Linked DNA regions of Homo sapiens: region 1 is linked to region 2. The links are contacts of gene promoters, found by promoter capture Hi-C in human tissues and cell types (Jung and others, 2019). All regions are on one chromosome and are shown on one strand. Each heading gives the region's core, a stretch centred on a gene start or on the middle of the fragment in contact. The rest is flanking DNA. Distances are from core to core; before and after follow the strand shown.

What was found. The method cuts DNA at HindIII sites, captures the fragments that hold promoters and counts their contacts. A contact is called where the count stands out against the background at its distance.
Region 1: a contact is called between a fragment that was not itself captured here and the fragment with the promoter of CCDC7 in region 2, in 2 of the 25 tissues and cell types used here (H1 embryonic stem cells and dorsolateral prefrontal cortex).

The regions. Positions count from the first base shown.
Region 1 is chr10:32,353,736-32,358,749 of GRCh38, forward strand. The region is part of intron 1 of EPC1-AS1 (EPC1 antisense RNA 1); the gene reads left to right. It also overlaps a transcript of EPC1 not described here. Among named protein-coding and RNA genes, the nearest start is that of EPC1-AS1, 8.9 kb to the left of the region's middle. The HindIII fragment of the contact is 4,123 bases long and covers 1-3,422 here.
Region 2 is chr10:32,442,486-32,447,994 of GRCh38, forward strand. CCDC7 (coiled-coil domain containing 7) reads left to right here and starts at 3,655. Exons shown (of 44, transcript NM_001395015.1): 1 at 3,655-3,912. LOC101929431 (a long non-coding RNA gene) reads right to left here and starts at 3,571. Exons shown (of 3, transcript NR_120660.1): 1 at 3,128-3,571. RefSeq lists an enhancer at 3,206-3,525 and a silencer at 3,596-3,825. The HindIII fragment of the contact is 7,178 bases long and covers 1,484-5,509 here.

The DNA of each region.
Region 1 (5,014 bases), core at 111-2,610, 91 kb before region 2:
TGATCTCTACATTAAAAAGTGATGTAGTGCAATAATTTAAAGCATTCTGCAAAAGTATGAATACTGAATACATTATCACTTGAAGTAATCATTTCTAATCATTTCTCTTAACTTCCTGCTTTTTACTTTCATAATAAGCTACATAAAGAAATGACTGCAAACAATTCTTCCACCATAACATTTAGGTAAACAAACACTGGAAGCCCTTTATAGTATGTTGTTTTTTTCATCTAGGAAATGTTGGAAAGAAAATATTACAGTTGCCTTTCAATATATTTACTAAGGTGTCACAGAAACAATATCTGAAGTACTGATTTCCTTACTGAGTAATTTGTGCATGGAGGTCTGTACATAATCTTTAAGAACTATTTTTCACATAAAATAAAATCATTCAGAATATATTTAGAAACAATATATCTGTACCTTAAGAGAATAAAGGGCAAATTATCAATCTTAGCAAACAGTAGCAGGATGGACTCAAAGTTATTTCAGTTTAACTTTATCTTCAATATGAAGTTTAACAACAACAACAAAAAAGAAATGAAAAATGCATGATTCAATACAAAAAATTAGCTGGGCATGGTGGTGGGCGCCTGTAATCCCAGCTACTTGGGAGGCTGAGGTAGGAGAATGGTGTGGACCCGGGAGGCGGAGCTTGAAGTGAGCCAAGATTGTGCCACTGCACTCCAGCCTGGGCGACAGAGTGAGACTCTGCCTCAAAAAAAAGAAAGAAAATGCGTGATTTAAACAAATGGGACTATCTGAGAATTGTAGTTGCAGCAGTATTGGGATTTAAAAAAGATGTCACACAATACATTTTAGATTTTCTATGTAATCTAAATAGAATGTCTTTACACATTTATTGTGTAAATCCTAAGGTTTAGGTTTTCTATAACCTTAGGATTTACACAATAAATGTGTAAATGTATTGGGATTTACACATTTATTGTAAATGTGTAATGTGTAACTGGCCACACAGCACAGAAGTGGGTGGCAGGCAAGCCAGCAAAGCTTCATCTGTATTTACAGCCAATCCCTAGTGCCCACATTACCACCCAAGCTTCACCCGGCATTAGATTCTCATAGGACCTCAAGCCTTATTCTGAGCTGCACATTGAGGGATCTGGGTTGCATGTTCCTTATGAGAATCTAATGCCTGATGATCTGTCACTGCCTCCCATCACTGTCCCCACATAGGACTGTCTAGTTGCAGGAAAACAAGCTCAGGGCTCCCACTGATTCTACATTATGGTGAGTTGTAGAACTGTTTCATTATATATTACAATGTAATAATAATAGAAAGAAAGTGCACAATAAATGTAATGCACTTGAATCATCCTCATAGGGGGAGCACTCCCTCCCCTGGATCCATAGAAAAGTTGTCTCCCATGAAACTAGTCCCTGGTGCCAAAAAGACTGGGGACCACTGCTGTAAATCATCTGATCTTTTCCTCACTGTGCTGGCAAGCAGTTGATACCTCTATGACAGCATTTTAAGGAGGATACTACTAGTTGCAGTTGGAGAAGTGGTGGGATGCGTGAACAGGAAACTGTTGAGAAACTGAACTTGAAAAATAATAATTTACTCCTTAGCAGAGGAACTATTCGGTAGTCTCTTCCATGTCTCATCCCAACAATTAATTTCTCAGAATAAAAGTCTATCTTAGAAAAATGTACAAATTAAACTGTATACATTTTAGAAATATTTGGTGGTATTTATCTAAACTGGATTACGTTAAATTACTGTCAACCCATTAAATCCATTGACTGGCACATACTGACAGATTACTATGTGTAGGCCAGGCATTGGTGCAAGGTTATAAATGGTAGAAAGACAAAAACAAAGAACACACTACCTTTAGTGCCTTACCCTTTTTTTTTTTTTTTTTTTTTTTTTTTTTTTTTTTGGGACAGAGTTGACCAGGCTAGAGTGCAGTGGCATGATCTTGGCTGCAACCTCCGCCTCCTGAGTTCAAGCCATTCTCCTGCCTCAGCCTCCCGAGTAGCTGGGACTACAGGCGTGCGCCACCACACCCAGCTAATTTTTGTATTTTTAGTAGAGACAAGGTTTCACCATGTTGGCCAGGCTGGTCTTGAACTCCAGACCGCAGGTGATCTGCCTGCTTTGGCCTCCCAAAGTGCTGGGATTACAGGTGTAAGCCACTGCACCTGGCCAGTGCCTTACACTTTTGAGTAGATAGACTACTTAAGCATTAGTTTTACTAAGTAATGCACATACAAATCAGTATGGTACAGATGGTACATGATGGGTGAAGGAACAAAGGAACAAAATTTAGAGAAAAATTGTTAATGAAGTAGAAACATATGTTGGAACATTTAAGTACAATTTATTAGTGGGTGGTAGACAAAGACTGTCAGGGAGGAAGGGCTTCGAGAGAGAAAATATCATGAATTGCTTTTGCTTTTATAACACGAGGAAGGAAATTCTGTTTTCTTACTGAAACTTGGGGTACAGAATTATCATCTAATAAATTAAGATTAGTGAAATAAAATGTTTTATCTTTCACTATATTTATTCTTCTCCATGACACCTTGAGTAACATTGTGCCAATTGCTTAGGTAAGCACTGTGAATCTAGTTCCCCTTCCCTTTCAGAGCAGGGAAGGGAAAGTGAATGACTGGAAGCCCATGGAGTGGGATTCTTGGTGTGAAGACTCACTCAGGGAGTGAGAGAGGAGCATAGAGAATGGAGCCCTGGGGAATACCAACATCTAGAAGATACCCAGGACAAGAACAGAGGGAGAGGCTGGGACAAGCCTGGAGACAAGCCAAATGAGGTCAGCATTTCAAGGAGGAGATCAACGAGGAGAATCAAAAAGAATGAGGAGGTCACAGTAAACCCATTTTCTTTAGGACACCGTGGGAGGAAAATAGACTCTGTGAGCTGAGCCGTGAATTGGAAGTTATAGGCCTAGTGGTGCCTGCGCACGTTGATTAAACATTTACCGCCAGGCGCGGTGGCTCACGCCTGTAATCCCAGCACTTTGGGAGGCCGAGGCGGGCGGATCACGGGGTCAGGAGATCGAGACCATCCTGCCTAACACGGTGAAACCCCATCTCTACTAAAAATACAAAAAATTAGCTGGGCGTGGTGGTGGGCACCTGTAGTCCCAACTCGGGAGGCTGAGGCAGGAGAATGGCGTGAACCCGGGAGGCGGAGCTTGCAGTGAGCTGAGATCGCACCACTGCACTCCAGCCTGGGCGAGGGAGCGAGACTCCGCATCAAAAAAATAAAAATAAAAAAATTTACCAAAGCCCCCAAAAAAGTGATTTCCCAGTACCCTCCTATAATCATTGTTTAAGTACTTGTTCACAAGAATGAGACCACTTTGAAGTCAAAAATCAGTTAAGCTTCAGGACATAGCCAGGGACACAGAGTAGCTATCATCCTCAGCGCCTCCCATGTTAGAACAGAGTACATGACGTATCTTCCAGAGTTAAAGCTGTAGAAGCTTGGAAACCAAAGACCTACATGACTTCTCTACATGAATTACTGACACAGGTAAAAGCCACATCCAGATCTTAAGATTTCTTCTGAATTTGGTTTCCCAAACACGAGACGCATAAGACAAAAAATAAGACAGTTGCACTGCAGCAGCATGTATATTGGAACGAGATAATATTTTTTGTTTCAATTGATTTATTTATAATAAGGTTAACACTTTGTGTTTCTGTTTCTTCTGGTCTTTTCTGGTTTTGTTTGTTAGTTTTGTTGTGGTTTTGACACAGGATCTTGCTTTGTGGCCCAGGCTGCAGTGCAGTTGTGCTATCACGGCTCACTGCAGCCTCAAACTTCTGGATTCAAGTGATCCTTCTGCCTCAGCCTTCAGTAGCTGGGACTACAGGTGCGTGCCACCATGTCTGGATAATTTTTTAATTGTTTTCTAGAGACAGGGTCTTGCTACGTTGGCTAGGCTGATCTTGCACTCCTGACCTCAAGCAGTCCTCCTGCCTCAGCCTTCTAAAGTGCTGGGATCATAGGTGTGATTCACCATGCCTGGCCCCATTTGTTAGTTTTTGTTTTTGCTTTTCATTGGCTGGTTTTACAATATAGAGATAATACAGTTTATTCTGTTTTGTGGCCTTCTCAATAAATTTTTTTTTTTTTTTTTTTTTTTAGACAGAGTCTCACTCTGTTGCCAGGCTGGAATGTAATGGCATGATCTCCACTCACTGCAACCTCCACCTCCCGGATTCATGAGATTCTCCTGCCTCAGCCTCCCGAGTAGCTGGGATTACAGGTGCCTGCCACCTTACCCAGCTAATTTTTGTATTTTTAGTGGAGACAAGGTTTCACCATGTTGGCCAGGCTAGTCTCGAACTCCTGACCTCAAGTGATCCACCCGCCTCAGCCTCCCAAAGTGGTGGGATTACAGGCATGAGCCATCACGCCCAGGCTACTTCTCAGTATAATTTGAGAATGCTCCCATCTCATTAAATACTCTTCTGAGACTATTATTTGACAAAGATACTTATCTAGCATCTGTAAAACAATTTACTTAAGAATTACCCTCTTAAAGTATAGAATGCACTGACTTTTCATTGTTATAAAGAACACGTATAATCTGAATAGTACTTTTAAAATAAAAATAAAAAGTGGGTTTAGGATGGGTGTGGTGTCTCACACCTTTAAACCCAGCACTTTTCAAGGCTGAAGCAGGAGGATCACTTGCACCCAGGAGTTTGAGACAAGCCTGGGCAACATAATGAGACCCCATCTCTACAAAAAATACAAAAATTAGCCAGGGTGTGGTGGTGCACACCTGTAGTCCTAGCTACTTGGGAGGCTGAGGTGGGAGGATCACTTGAGCCTAGGAGGTTGAGGCTGTAGTGGACTGTGATCGCGTCACTGCACTCCAGCCTGGGGAACGGAGTAAAAAAAAAAAAAAAAGCGGGGGCGGGGGGGGAAGAAAGTGGGTTTAAATTTTCACGGTTTAAGGCACAGAACCAATGTCTGCTGTTCTTTGAATAATGATAGTGCCAAGTCTACACA
Region 2 (5,509 bases), core at 2,405-4,904:
TTGGGGAGAACTGACATCCTAACATTATTAAATCTTCTGATTCATGAACACAGTGTATCTTCATTTATTTAGGTCTTTTTATTTTCTCTCAGCAATTTTTTGTAGTTATCACTGTAACTTTTTATCTTATTGAGTGCTGGAAGGTTTTGTATGCCTATAAATATTCTTGAGCTGTGTTTTGGGTCTCAGCTAAGTTACTGGAAACATTCAATCCTTTCAGATCTTACTTTTAAGCTTTGTTTGACAGGTCCAGAGGAGTGTTTAGTGTAAGACTGTTTTTGAACCCTTCCTGAGGCAAAACCCTTTTGAGCACTTTACTCACTGCCCCTTAAATTATAAAACTTTTGACTCTAGCTGGTGGTAACATGAAATATTCTGAGCACTGAGTATCATATCCTATCATGGCACTGAGTGTCATATCCTATCATGCTTCCACGTGGTTCTTTCCCTGGCCATGGATAGTTTTCATACATGTATACAGTGATCATTACCCAGTTGAAGACTAAAGGGGTCCCCTGAAGATTTATGGAGCTCTCTTTGTTCTTTAATTTCTTCTCTCGGATTCTCTCCTTTGAACTCTAGCTTCCTTGGCCTTCCTGGACACCTCCTTCCCTCAACTCAGAGACCGCTAGAAGCTGCCTGGGTTTTCTGTTCTTTGTATCATGACTTGGAACCACCTGTCTTCAGGGAGTAAGCTTAGGAAATAATAGGGATCATCTTAAATTTGTTTCCTGTTATGCAGGGGTCATTATCATTATCTGATAACCGAGGTATAAAAATTCATTGTTTCATATATTTTGTCTGATTCTTTACTTATTCCAGACAGGAGGATAAACCCAGTTGCTGTTACTCCATCTTGGCTGGAAGCAGAACCCTTCACATAAACCCAGTTGCTGTTACTCCATCTTGGCTGGAAGCAGAACCCTTCACATTATCCCTTGAAGGATAATATGTATGGTATGTGTCCATGGCACAAAGTCTATGATTTAATTTAAATTAACTTTCAGGTATGGCACGAGGCAGGGGTCATGGATAATTTTTTTTCTCTCAATGATATCAGCTTTCATTTTCATTGTTGGAAAGATTTTTCTTTCCCCATTGAAGTGCACTGGCACTGTTTAAAATCAATTGACTTTATATATGTGGATATATTTCTTAACCCTCTATTTGTTCCATTTTTGTCTAACTTCGTGTAATATACTATTTTACTATAACTTTATAACTCTTGAAAACCTGTAGTATATGTCATTTAAATATTTGCTTATTTTTTTCAAGATTGTTTTGGCTCTAGCCTTTTTCATTTCCATATAAATTGCAAAATTATTTTCCCAATTTCTAGAAAATAATCTTCTTGGATTTTGATCATAAACGCATTTAATGTGTAGATAAATATTGATAGACATAGACTTAAAAAGTTGACATTTTAGCAATATTGGGTCTTCTAATCCATTAATATGGTACATAATCTCCATTAATTTGGATCTTCTTTAATTTCTCTCAGTAATGTTATATAGTTTTCATTGTAGATGTCTGGAAATTGTATGTTGTCTGGGAATACAGCTTTATTTCTTTCATTGAAATCATTATGCCTTTATTTCTTTTTCTTGCCTTATTGCACTTGTTAAGACCTCCAGTATAATACTGAATAGACATAGTGAGAGCAAATATCCTTGCCTCCTTCCAATCTTAAGGAAAAATCAATTTTTCACTATTGAAAATGATGTTAGCTGGAGATAGTTCACAGATGTCCTTCATCAGATGAAAAAGTTCCTCTCTATTCATAAGTATTGTTTGTTTTCAAAGAATAATCGATTCATGTCACAGACTCAAACCACTGCAAAATTTGATATTACATGCTTAAATTTATTAACTTTTTAAACTTCTTTGCTTTACATTGTCAGCACTGATAACTTTTCTGTGGTTCTTAGCTGTGCTATTAAGGCCACAGATATGAATGGTGAACTTTTGGCTAGACTCATGCTGAGAGTTTTGCTAATGTATGCTAACTTGACAACTTGACCGTTAAGATTTTACCAACAAAATTAGAAATGACTAGATGTAATCTATTTTCAGGGTTCTAGAAAATAACTGAAATTGGCTTTGTCAAATCTAAGGTCTTCTTTAATCTCTCCTGACTTTTAGTTCTATCTTTCCTATCCCTTTCATTTACAACGGTTTTGGGAGATTTGGAATTTAGCAATTCAATTCTTTCTAAACTACTTTCTTAATTTTATTGCCAACTTTAAAAAATAAAAAATTGTTGGTGGAAAGCTTAATAAATCTGATCATTTATATGTACATTTTCTTTGTTACTGACATAAAACACACATACTGAAAAGTGCATAAATAAGCATATGCCTTCATGTTTTTTTTTTTTTTTCTTTTTTAGATGGAGTCTCGCTCTGTTGCCCAGGCTGGAGCGCAATGGCACAATCTCGGCTCACTGCAACCTCCACCTCCTGGGTTCAAGTGATTCTCCTGCCTCAGCCTCCTAAGTAGCTGGGATTACAGGCACCCGCCATCACGCCCGGCTAATTTTTGTATTTTTAGTAGAGATGGGGTTTCACCATGTTGGCCAGGCTAGTCTCGAACTCCTGACCTCGAGTGATGCACTGCCTCAGGCTCCCAAAGTGCTGGGATTACAGGTGCGAGCCACCACGCCCAGCCTGCCTTCATGAATTTTTGAACACACCCAGAAAGAGCAGAAGACAGAACATTTCTGGTACACCAGAAGATGTGTTGTTTTCCCTTTCCAGGCAACCCCAATGGTAACTCCTAGTGGTGTGATGGAGCTAGCCTACACCAGCTCTTGGGAGCTGATAAATTTTCAGGAATCTCTTGTGAGGCATTCAGATTTTACTGGAAAATTAGAAATAATTAGATATAATGAATTTTCAGAGTTTTAGAAAATAGTTGAAATCTACTAAGTCAAATCTAAGGTCTCCTTTAAACCTCCTGGTTTTTAGTTTTAGTTCCATCTTTCCTATTCCTTTCATTTACACACAGGCATTATTAACAGTTAAATTGTATCAATTAATATTTTAAAATATTAAAAACATTTTACTTCGTTCAACTTAAAGACAAAATTAATATATTTCTTGAGGTCAAATTATCTAAAAAACTCTACCTTGTAAAATTGCATCTTAAAGCAGTGCGTGGAAACTGATGGCAAGAAACCACTTAAGTGTCACAACTCTGCTTCAAGTTAATTCCTAGTCCATTTGATTTTGTTTTGCTTTTAAGATCACGAAGCTGGTGTACACTTCCGTGCGAGCTTAGAGTGGTAATGAACTCCACAATACACTGAAAAGAGCTTGAGGAGACAGCAGATGAAGGACTGGGGCTCTGGTTTTGTAGCTGAAGCCCAGGTTCTCAAAGGTCCTACCAGGCCTGTACTTTATTTCTCCTCCGCGGGCCTCTAGGCCAAATGCCTGGATGAATCTGCGCTCAGGGGGCGTCCTGGAATTACACTTGGGAGAGAATAAGAAAGGAGGAGGCCGATGTGCCCATGGACATTATTAACCTTCCGGCAAATCCCCACAGCCGCCAAACTGCGTCTCCTCTTCCGCTCTCGGCGCGCAGCTCACGCTCGCAGCGTCAGCGACGCCGGCGGCGCCAAGGCGTCGTGGCGTCGGGCGCCTGGGACGTGGCTTCAACGGCCCCATCCGGCGCCGGCGGCGGGTGCCCGGCGGTCTTTGCTGCCGCCCGGGGGCGCAGAGGCCGGGCCTTTTCTTTCAGCACAAACGTCAGTTTGTAAAAGGGAGGTGCTGGAGTCTGAGGAGTTTTCAGGCTTCCGTCTCGAAGGAAGTCTGGCAGGCTCGGAATTGTCATCTTCCTCAGGCAAATAGTTTTTCACCTTAGAGCCAGCAAGGCCAAACCGCCCAGTCACCCGACTTCCCACAGTCTCAGCAGGTACACAGGGCGGGGAGCCTCGGGAGCGGCTCCCTTAGCAGGACCTGAGGGTTTCGGGAGAGTCCTGGCTTTGCACTTAGTTTTCCCGCTGCCTGGCTGCCTCCGTGGCGGTTGTGCTGCTTTTTATGCAGGATGTAGGATCGAAGGCAAATCATCCTTTCCCTACGTCCCCTGCCAACCCCTGCCGCTCTCCTCTATTTTGTACACTTTATCATTAAAGGATTTGAAATGAATGTAAGTTAATCCTTGAAGGATGAAACCAGAAAACATTTGTCGTGGTGGCGGAAAGGGACGGATGCACTTGGGCGAAGTAATGCTGACATCCACTTCCTAGCATTGTTAGGAGGGATAAATGAATTAAATATGTAAAGTCCTTAAATATTTGCTTGCTAATACGAGTATTCATTGCGTGTGACTATTTTTGTATTTATGTGAACTTCATCGGAGCATTTGTCAGGTTCTTTTTTTTTGCACCAAGTGAGCGTTGCCTGCCTGCCTGCCTGCCTGCCTCCCTCCCTCCCTCCCTTCCTTCCTTCCCCTCTTCCCTTCCTCCCTCCCTCCCTCCCTCCCTCCCTCCCTCACACTTTTTTGGGGAGAGAGGACACAATGCAATCCATAACAGCATATACACTTGTTCTTTTTTCCATCGAACTTTCCTCTTGACCATGTTTTCTTCTAGTAATACTGTATTTCTTTACTCCCTTTTATAGTAAAATTTCTCTACAGTGCTTATATTCAATTCATTGTTCCTACTTCCTCTCTTTTGAACGGTAAGTCAGATATTTACCTCGATCATTCTACTGAAATTGTTGCCGTTCTTCAGGTTACAAATGACCTACCTCCATGTTGCCAAATCCAGTGTCAGCTTAGTCTTCATTTTACTTGACTCAGCATTTGACGTAGTTCATCACTCGGTCCTTGGTGATATTTTCTTTTCCTTGCTTTCTATGTATATATAACCTTTTGGTTTTACTTATTGGCTCATTGGCCACTCTTCTTACGTCCTGTTTCCTGGTCCTGATGGTTTTGATGGAATTTTTGATGTTTGCTTGGACCTGAAGGTTTTGATGGAGTTTCTTTGGCAATGTAATTTATTCAGAATTCTTTTGAGGCTTTTCAATTTTGTAAATTTAATCTTGGTTTCTGCATCATTTTGCTTGTATCATTAATTTTTACTGAAAGCATCGTGTCACAATCGGCATGAGAAAAATGTAAAAGGGAGCAGGGCGCACAGTGGCTCAGGCGTGTAATCCCAGCACTTTGGGAGGCTGAGGTGGGAGGATCACCTGAGGTCAGAAGTTCGAGACCAGCTTGGCCAACGTGGTGAAACCCTGTCACTATTAAAAATACAAAAATTAGCCGGACGTGGCAGTGGGCACCTGTAATCCCAGCTACTTGGGAGGCTGAGGCAGGAGAATCGCTTGAACCTGGGAGGCAAAGTTTGCAGTGAGCAAGATTGTGCCATTGTACTCCAGCCTGGGCGACAAGAGCGAAACTCTGTCTCAAAAAAACGAAAAATGTAAAAGGGAATATTTTGCAGGGGCTTTGGTTCAAGTTCTATAATGTGTTTATTTACTATTATCATCAGTAATTTCCA